Linked DNA regions of Homo sapiens: region 1 is linked to region 2. The links are contacts of gene promoters, found by promoter capture Hi-C in blood cells and fetal thymus (Javierre and others, 2016). All regions are on one chromosome and are shown on one strand. The core of a region is centred on a gene start or on the middle of the fragment in contact, and the rest is flanking DNA. Distances in the headings are between cores, read along the strand shown.

Region 1 (5,115 bases), core at 1,705-4,204, 860 kb before region 2:
TACAGGCATGAGCCACTGCGCCGGCCCAAAATTTTAATTTTCACTGGAAAGTTCTACTTCATCACTGGCAACAAATACCAACAGCTTACACTGAAGTAACAGGTTCTCAGTTCATTTTCAAGATGTCTGCCAAATACCCAAGTATGAACAATCACTGTTTGTCATTCATTCAAGTAAAAATAACATCCCATGGAAAAAAGCTGTTAGTTCAGCTCACTCAATCACATGCGTACTCTTGCTCAAGACAACTAACGCGGGCCTGTAATCCCAGCACTTTGAGAGGTCGAAGCAGGTGGATATGTGAGGTCAGGAGTTCAAGACCAGCTGGCCAACATGGTGAAACCCCATCTCTACTAAAAATACAAAAATTAGCCAGGCAGAGTGGCACGCACCTGTAATCCCAGCAACTCGGGAGGCTGAGGCAGGAGAATCACTTGAACCCAGGAGGTGGAGGTTGCAGTGAGCTGAGATCGCCCCACTGCACTCCAGCCTGGGTGACAGAGCAAGATTCTGTGTCAAAAAAAAATTTTTTTAAAAAAGACGTACAGTCAAGAGTCCAATCTAATCAAATTTAAATGTTTTACTCTTTCATCAAGAATCATTGATGGAAGTGGCTTTTTTTTTTTTTTTTTTTTTTGAGACAGAGTCTTGCTCTGTCGCCAGGCCGGAGTGCAGGGGTGTGATCTCAGCTCACTACAACCTGTGCCTCCTGGGTTCAAGCAATTCTCCTGTCTCAGCCTCCCAAGTAGCTGGGACTACAGGCGCGCACCACCATGCCTGGCTAACTTTTGTATTTTTAGTAGAGACAGGGTTTCACAATGTTGGCCAGGATGGTCTCAATCTCTCGATCTCGTGATCTGCCCGTCTCGGCCTCCCAAAGTGCTGGGATTTCAGGTGTGAGCCACTGGGCCCGGCTGGCTTTTTTTTTTTAACTCTTTGCTGTCACTGCCTTGATGTTTGGTAAAGCATCAGCGGTTTTACCCATCATTGCTATGGCACCAACAGTGGAAATGGCAATAATATGTAAACATTACCACAAAAACTAATTTTAGCCTCGGAGACCCCCTATGGTCTGTGGACATCCTGAGAAACAGGACTCTAACCAAACTAGAATATGCTAAAATCACACGTTATGTCCACAACTCCAAGCTGTTCATGTCACTCGTGTCTGGGGAATTCCCACTCATCTTTCCAAGTCTAGCCAAGTGTCACTTTCCAGTGGGTCCCTGACACACAACCTCCAGCACCGCTCCCCTCCTTTAGAGATCTGTTCCCTCAATGCTTACCCTCTTTATAACTTCCACTATATATACTCATTTACAGAATACATCCACTGCCATTCTGATCCCCCATGCCAAGCTCACTGTAACACCCTAAGGTCAATAACCACATCTTATAATCAATCCAATCAGCACCGCCCTATGAACTCTGAGATTTTAGGCAAAACAGTGACAAGAAACCTAATCATATATTGTCAGGGAAATAATCTGACGACCTCTCCAGTCAGATCAACTCTATATTATTATTTTTCTGAAGCAATCCTCCTAAAATATAATTTACAACCTGGGCAACAGAGCAAGACGCTGTCTCTACAAAAAATAATTTTAGACCAAGCACTGGCTCATGCCTGTAATCCCAGCACTTTGGGAGGTCGAGCTGGGTGGATTACCTAAAGTCGAGAGTTCCAAACCAGCCTAGCCAACATGGTGAAACCCCGTCTCTACTAAAAATACAAAAATTAGACGGGCGTGGTGGCAGGTGCCTGTAATCCCAGCTACTCGGGAGGCTGAGGCAGGAGAATTACTTGAACCCCAGAGGCGAAGGTTGCAGTGAGCCAAGATTGCGCCATTGCACTCCAGCCTGGGCGACAGGGCAAGACTCTGTCTCGAAATAACAATAATAATTTTTAAAAGTTAGGCGGGCGTGATGGCCTCCCCCTGGAGTCCCAGCTTCTCAAGAGGCTGAGGCGGGAGGCTCGGTTGAGCCCGGGAGGTGGAGGCTGCTACGACTGCATCAATGCACTCCAGCCAGGGCAGCAGAACAAGACCCCATCTCAATAACAAAACAAAAAAAAGCAAAAAAGCACGCTTTTCGTGCATGTATAAACAGTGCTTCTTCATACTCAAACTCTTAGCTCTATAGCTCTGATCTGCAGAGAATTTCAAAAACCAAGCCACAGCTAGTTATTTGGCCAACAGCAAATAGGCTGAACCACAGAAAACGGTCCAATGAGCCATTTCATAGGATTCGCCCTCATAAAAATTACAAGGGGGAGAAAGAAAAGCGACGCGGGTGGAGTGAAACGGCATGAAACGGGGACAAGATGAAGTTAAAAACGGCTCACCTGTCATTCCAATCGTCCCCTCGACGTCTTTCATCTCTCTCGCGGGAACGGTCGTAGTCGCTGCGCTCTCTTCTGAACTTGTCCCTGCGCCTTCGATCGTACTCGTCATCACTGTCACCCATGGCACGGTCTGAGGGGGCCTGGGGACCGGGGAGAGGCGGTAGGAGTGGTGCAAAAGGACGAGCGGAGGAAGGGACCGTCCCTCGCGGGCAGCTCGCCCGCTTCCCTCCCGCCAAGGCCAGCCCTCCGCGGCCCCCACCATCCTAGGCCTGAGAACGCGGCTCCAACACCTCCACTCGCCCCGAGTTTCTCCGCGCCCGCCCCCGTGGACCCCGGTTCCTCTCCCGCCCCAGCGGGGCCCCCCAGGCTCCTCCCCTCCCCCACCTTGGTGCGGCCGCGGCCGTTGGACTCGCGCTCGGACGGGCTAGATTTCAGGGCGACCTGGGTCGCGGGCGCGCGACGAGGACTTCGAGGAGGGCGAGACGGAGACGGAGCTCTTGAGTAGAGGGCCGAAGAGAGGCGAACAAAAGTGGGACAACCGGGGATGGGCAGTAGCGCGCGCAGCCCGCGCTGCGCCTGCGTCACCCACGCCTCCGAGGCACAAAGCTCCACCCTCGCGGCCGGAACTGGAACTAACAAACCGAGCGCGAAGGGCGGGGAGAGCAGGGCGTGATGGGAAAGGGGCGGGGATCTCGCAAGTCTCGCGCGGCTTTTCGAGACGATAACGGCTCGAGCGTTAGGAACTACGGGACCTCGGCTGGGCCAAGCGCGGCCTCGGGAGGCGAACAAGCCCTCTGGGCGCGAAGGGAGAGCGGAAGTCGAGGATCGCGCGACCCCAGATGTGTCGGGGTCCTAAGACGGTTCTCATCCAGCCATGTTCCCCCCACGGGCCTCCTGACCTCACCGGGGGTGATTTCGTCCCCTCCTCGGGCAGGGCGTGGGCTTGGGAAGCGCGGGCGCTTAGGGGATGGAAGGTGGAAGCAACCATTTTAAAGCATCGTATCCCACCATTTTCTGCTCCAAATATCCAGCCAAAATTGGGTGCCACAGTGCGCACTAAATGCAAAGTCCGCCGTTCCTGCTTTTCCTCGACAAAGACGCCCCGTCTTTAAGTAAAATTGGCAGATCTCAGTCTTAACCCCGCTCAGTATTTGGATGAAATAGGCTGTAAGTTAACGCCCTAAACAGAGTATGGACCGCCCAGATTCAATGGATTACCACCCCCGGGAGTAACACCAAGGCCCCTCTCAGTGAATTGAGTGTGAGACTTAATAGGAAGACCAGCTGAGATGGCTCACGCCTGCAATCCCAGCGCTTTGGGAGGCCGACGTGGGAGAATCACTTGAGCCCAGGAGTTGGAGACCTGCCTGGGCAACATAGCAAGGCCCCTTTACAGAATATTTAGGGCCAGGCACATTGGCTCACACCTGTGATCCCAGCACTTGGGAAGGTCGAGGAGGGAGGACTTAAGCCCAAGAGTTCAGGACTAGCCTGGGCAACATAGCAAGATCCCATCTACACACAAAAAAATAATAACTGGGCTTGGTGGGATGCCCCTGTGGTCCTAGCTACTGGGGAGGCTAAGCCAGGAGGACTGTTTGAGCCCAGGAGTTCAGGGCTGCAGTGAGCCTTGATTGCACCACTGCACTCTAGCCTGGGGAACAGAGTGAGGCCCTGTCTCAAAATAGATACATAGAGGAAATCTTGCCTCCTCCCTGAGGCGTGCTTGCTCCCAGCACTGAGAGGAGGGTAGTGACGGATTACAAGAGTTGTCAAAAAAAACTGGACCTGAGTCAAAAAGACCCAGGTTCCACCATTTAAGAACCATGCAATCTGGGGGAGTCACCTCTCAGCTCTGACATCCTCACATGTAAAAATGCAGACAGTGGCCAAGGGCGGTGGCTCACGCCTGTAATCCCAGCACTTTGGTTGGGTGAAGCGGGCAGATCACTTGAGGTCAGGAGTTCAAGACCACCCTGACCAAGGTGGTGAAACCCCGTCTCTACTAAAAATACAAAATTAGCCAGACGTGGTGGCGGGCGCCTGTAATCCCAGCTACTCAAGAGGCTGAGGCAAGAGAATCACTTGAACCTGGGAGGCAGAGGTTGCAGTGAGCCGAGATGGCACCACTGCATTCCAGCCTGGGTGACAGAGCCAGACTCCGTCTCAAAAAAAAAAGAAAAAAAATGCAGGCAGTAACAATGACTGGGCCTGTAATGGGCTACTGGGAGAATCAGATGAGACAACAGACTTGGAAGTGTTTTGTAAACTCGAGGGATTATTATTTCTTGATTGGAGAAAGAGAAGACAGCATTTGGTGACAAAGTCATACAGGTGGATGTCAGGGAGAGTGATCAATCAAAGGATGGGAACTGGAACTGAGAACCCAGCAGGTACTTCTAGGAAGACTCAGCAGTCAGTGGTGACGGTGGCTGAGAGCTCCTGGATGCGCCAGGCGCTGCAGGCCTTGCACAAGATGTGCCCATCCAGCGGGTAGCAGCCCTGACACTCGCCCTCAGAGGAGAGCAGCAGCCCACACTCCTGTTGAAAAAGAAGCAACAATTGGCCGGGCGCGATGGCTCACGCCTGTAATCCCAGCACTTTGAGAAGCCGAGGCAGGAGGATCACAAGGTCAGGAGTTCAAGACCAGCCTGGCCAATATGGTGAAACCCTGTCTCTACTAAAAATACAAAAATTAGCCAGGCATGGTGGCCAGCACCTGTAATCCCAGCTACTCAGGAGGCTGAGGCAGGAGAATCACTTGAACCCGG
Region 2 (4,927 bases), core at 180-2,679:
GTAGCTAGCTTCCTCGTTTGTATTTTAAGAGTGGTGAAAACTGCCTGAAATAATAAACAAGAATCTTATATGTTAATTCAGAGAAGATACAAACCTGGATACACATTCTGGGGCAAATCACCATGGTTTCCTATGTAAAACAGCGATTTCTCCACATTTGTTCAGCATATATACTAACAGTGCTTTGCTGATGTGGTTACAATGAATTCTCCACAATTCAATTCAACAAGTATTTATTGACCGCCTCCAATCCGCCTAGCACTGGCCCGTACAATAAATGCTTTCTTTGGTCCCAGGCCATGGAACAGCCACTCTCTATAATGAAAGTATCTTACTGTGTACAGGGGGCACTGCAGGAAAGGGAGGGGAGGGATGGAGGAGTGTCAAGCTAAACTGTAGTTAATTCTTCAATTACATTGACCAAATCATTTCGAAGTCGGAAGGGCCTTTTGAGAAAATCCAGTTAGTTTTTATTGATGACGAAATTAAGACTTGGTGAGTGTCTCGTCTTATCCAAGGTCACTCAGCTAATCAGTCTCCTAGTGACACAGTGCAATTTCCACAAATTCCCTTCACTTCTCACCCCACTCCATGTCAAACAGAGCAACTATCCAGAATTGAAAAATCCACCTAACGTCCCGGACAGCTCTTTTCCAAAGCCTTCAAAGCATTCCATCAAGCTGAAAGAGTGGGGTGTATATAATCTCTACTAGATCCCAATCACCTATTTATCCACTATGACTAGGCTTCAAATACTCTTTAATCACCGCTCAGTGATGAGGGTGGGAGAAGGAAAGGCAGGTCTGGAAACGTATGCGGCACCTCAAAATGTGTCCATCTCTCATCCTTCCGCTCATTTCACCTCGAGGTCCCGAAGGAACCGGGGGGGGAAAAAGACACCTCACCGGAATCAAAGCAAATGGCGACTAAGGGAGAGCAGAAAAATCAAGACCGGGGTCGGTTCGCTCGCGACCCCGTTTGCAGAAACGTCAAAGGGCGATGACGACACTGCGGGAGAGGGGCCCACAGACGGCTTCTCCCCGGGTCTCCGGGCACCCTCAGCCACTGAAACCCTCGCCCCCTCCCCGCCTGATCCTGGGGGTGGGGCGGGGACGTCTCCCAGGAAGAACGGCGCTTTCTACGGCCGGGCCCGGCCAGGAGGCAGGGGCATGGACTCTCTTCGCACAACAGCGGGGCCGCCTGGAGGGGGTCCCAGGGCCGCAGCTGCGGAGCCCACCCTCGCGCACACACCCTTGCGGCCCCGCCCTCCCACCCCAGAGGCCGGCCCCAAGTCTCACCGTGAGCCCCGGGAGCGGCCTGGGGGCGCTGGGCGAGAAAGGGGAGCTGACTCTGGGGCTCAGGCCGGCCGAAGGGCACCGCACACGGACTTAGGCCCTCCCGACGCCTCGACACAGACACAATGAGTCACAAAGGCCGGAAGCGTGTCACCACCTCGTCTTCCGGGACCGCGCCGCGCTTCCGGGTCCTCTCTAGGAGCGCGGGAGGACTTTGCATCTCGGTTTCCGAATCGCTGGACCAGGCGCCTGCCCTTGAGTTTTCAAGCCTCCAGCTTGGAGGATCAGGTCCCAGTCCGCCCCTAGTTAATGCAGGGACTAACGGGAGCAGGTGGTGGGGGGTTTCAGGCTTTCCCCTACTCAAACTCAAACAGACTCTCCAGCTCAGACACCAGTCCATGTGAAAGTTCGATTTCACCTGTCTTTTTCATCTCAGGCAGTCCTTGTAGTAATTATAGTTATTATCAAGCAATATAGTACTTGGTAATTGTATGTCTGTGGCAAAGGAACTGAAACAAGGATGTAGACTGAGGAAGATCAAAGTGAAGCCAAGGGTGGCTGGTTTCCCAAAGCTGCCACGGTAGCTTCTCTCAGGGCCCTGGAGCTATATGGAGTGGTATTTTCAAATACTTGGCCCGTGGACAAGGGATGTCTTTCCACAAGCAAGCATAGTTATAAGGTTCTGTGCTTTGCTCATGTGGCATATGCTATTATAGCCGTTTAAAAGGAGTTTTCAGAGTAACAACAGACACTTTTACCTTCAAAGTGCTTTCACAACCTACCACAGTTACAGCCTTCATCTTTGCCTTGCAGGGTAAGGCACGCATAAGAGGGGGCCACGTTGTGCAAGGGTGGGGGGGACTACAGGCTTTAATGGTTGTGACTTTCCACTATGTTCCGAGACAAGTTCATGGGAGAAACTCAGTAGCTTGGTTGCATGACTCTTACTGCTTGGAGAGATTTACTTTTTTTTTTTAGATGGAGTCTCGCTCTGTCACCCAGCCTGCAGTGCAGTGGCACCATCTTGGCTCACTGCAACCTCCACCTCCCAGGTTCAAGCGATTCTCCTGCCTTAGCCTCCTGAGTACCTGGGACTACAGGCGCACACCACCATGCCTGGTTAATTTTTGTATTTTTGGTAGAGAACAGGGTTTCACCATATTGGCCAGGATGGTCTCGATCTACTGACCTTGTGATCCACCCGCCTCAGCCTCCCAAAGTGCTGGAATTACAGGCGTGAGCCACCGTGCCCGGCCAGATTTACTTTTTAAAAAATGTTTGAAAACTAAAAAGCAATGACAGGGCCAGACACGATGACTCAAGCCTGTAATCTTAGCACTTCGGGAGGCTGGGACGGGAGGATTCTTGAGCCCAAGAGTTGGAGACCAGCCTAAGCAACGTAATGAGACCCTCTCTCTACAAAAAATACTAAAATTAGCTGGGTGCAGGGTAGTGTGTGCCAGTGGTCCCAGCTGCTTGGGAGGCTGAGGTAGAAGGATAGATTGAGCCCAGGAGGTTGAGGCTGCAGTGAGCTATGATTGTGCCATTGCACCCCAGTCTGGGCCACAGAGCAAGATCCCATCTCAAAAAAGAAAAAAAGGGCCGGGCACGGTGGCTCATGCCTGTAATCCCAGCAGTTTGGGAGGCCAAGGTGGGTGGATCACGAAGTCAAGAGATTGAGATCATCCTGGCCCATATGGTGAAACCCCGTCTCTACTAAAAATACAAAAATTAGCTGGGCGTGGTGGCACACGCCTATAGTCCCAGCTACTTGGGAGGCTGAGGCAGGAGAATCGCTTGAACTCCAGAGGCGGAGGCTGCAGTGAGCCGAGATCGTGCCACTGCTCTCCAGCCTGGGGACAGAGCTAGACTCTGTATCCAAAAAAGAAGCAACAACAGTATCATTAAAGGAAATTTGCAAAATGGAGAAAAATAATTACCGGTAATCTCTCCACCCTAACACAATCCCCATGGCTTTAGTTTACCTTTTTCCTGTTTTCATATACAAATAAATATTTATTGATATTATTTTAAACACTGTTCAAAACCATAGTTGCAGTTGTATTGAAGAGGAGGCTGGTATCCTGGAAGTATCTGCTACATTCATATCATGTGAACACTGTTTTTTAAGGAAGAGAAAATATATTTACTATTCAGTAAGTGGAAATAGATCATCATCAAGGTCTTCATACTCATCGTCTTCACACTGAGTAAGCTGAGGAGGAAGAGGAAGGGTTGCTCTTGCTGTCTCAGGGGTGGCAGAGGCAGGAAGTGATCCACCAGCCTCGGCCTCCCAAAGTGCTAGGATTACAGGTGTGAGTCACTGCACCTGGCCTCTTTTCTTTCTTTTTTTTTGAGAGAGTTTCCCTCAGTTGCCATGTTGGAGTGCAATGGCGTGATCTCAGCTCACTGCAACCTCCGCCTCCTGGGCTCAAGTGATTCTCATGCCTCAGCCTCCCAAGTAGCTAGGATTACAGGTGTGCACTCACCATGCCTGGCTAATTTGTGTATTTTTAGTAGAGATGGGGTTTTACCATGTTGGCCATGCTGGTCTCGAACTCCTGGCCTCAAGTGATCCACCCACCTCAGCCTCTCAAAGTGCTGGGATTACAAGTGTGAGCCACCGCGCCTGGCCTCGACATCTTTGATTACTTCCTAAGGATGGATTCCAAGAAATGAGATTACTGGTCCCACAGATAGTCAGAGGGAATATAGGCAATAACGTTTGTAACCCCAGGGTTCTAGACCTGTCAGCAAACAAGCTCAGCTGACAAGATCAGGTGGTATCCACCCAAGAGTTTTGAAAGGACTCTAAGATGAAAGTGTTGAAAGAATCATGAAACTAATGATTTATGATTACAAAGAGACATTGTGCTTAAAAATTGGCTGGCTGCCCTGAACAAATAAAAGTTCCTGAAGGGCACCCTAGAAACTGTGGTTGCCTAAGTTTGACTTCTGTGTTGTGAAAGCTGGTGGAGTCAATGCTGAAGGGGAGCCCGGGTTTGCGGCTGTGACTGGGTGGCTGCAGCTACTCCTGGGAGGGAGGGTCTCCTGTCCCTCCAACTTGGAAGGAGTGGGGGCTTCCATGTGTTCCCAGCTCCCTCCAGCTCTGTGGAGTGCTGCGATCCCAGCTATGCCTCACTCACTGCAGCCAGCATCATGGCAGTGGCCACTCCAGATGGGGTGCTGCTGCCAAGGCGGGCAGATCACCTGAGGTCAGGAGCTCGGGACCAGCCTGACCAACACGGAGAAACCCCGCCTCTACTAAAAATACAAAATTAGCTGGGCATGGTGGTGCATGCCTGTAATCCCAGCTACTCAGTAGGCTGAGGTAGGAGAATCGCTTGAACCCAGGAGGCAGAGGTTGCGGTGAGCCGAGATTGAACCATTGCACTCCAGCCTGGGCAATAAGAGCGAAACTCTGTCTTAAAAAAAACAAAACAAAACAAAAAAAACAAACCCAAGTCTTATATCTGATTCCAAAGGTCCCATTTTACTGAGTCTTCTTCTTTCTTCTTGACGGAGTTTTTGCTTTTGTCACCGAGGCTGGGATCACTGCAACCTCCGCCTCCCAGGTTCAAGCGATTCTCCTGCCTCAGCCTCCCACGTAGCTGGGATTAAAGGCGTGTGCC

What was found. Contacts are between HindIII fragments. The CHiCAGO score rates a contact against its expected background, and 5 or more counts as called.
Region 1: the fragment with the promoter of SRRT here is called in contact with the fragment with the promoter of ZKSCAN1 in region 2 in 1 of 17 cell types (neutrophils); the score reaches 7.8 in neutrophils.

Annotation. Positions count from the first base shown.
Region 1 is chr7:100,872,942-100,878,056 of GRCh38, reverse strand. SRRT (serrate, RNA effector molecule) reads right to left here and starts at 2,954. Exons shown (of 20, transcript NM_015908.6): 1 at 2,729-2,954; 2 at 2,345-2,484. The coding sequence starts at 2,466. It overlaps TRIP6 (thyroid hormone receptor interactor 6), which reads right to left. Exons shown (of 9, transcript NM_003302.3): 9 at 4,603-4,885. The coding sequence ends at 4,754. RefSeq lists a silencer at 2,473-2,702 and enhancers at 2,843-2,902, 3,113-3,162, 2,739-3,404, 3,405-4,069. The HindIII fragment of the contact is 10,507 bases long and covers 1-5,115 here.
Region 2 is chr7:100,012,098-100,017,024 of GRCh38, reverse strand. It overlaps ZKSCAN1 (zinc finger with KRAB and SCAN domains 1), which reads right to left and starts at 1,429. Exons shown (of 6, transcript NM_003439.4): 1 at 1,299-1,429. RefSeq lists a silencer at 1,174-1,343. The HindIII fragment of the contact is 19,683 bases long and covers 1-4,927 here.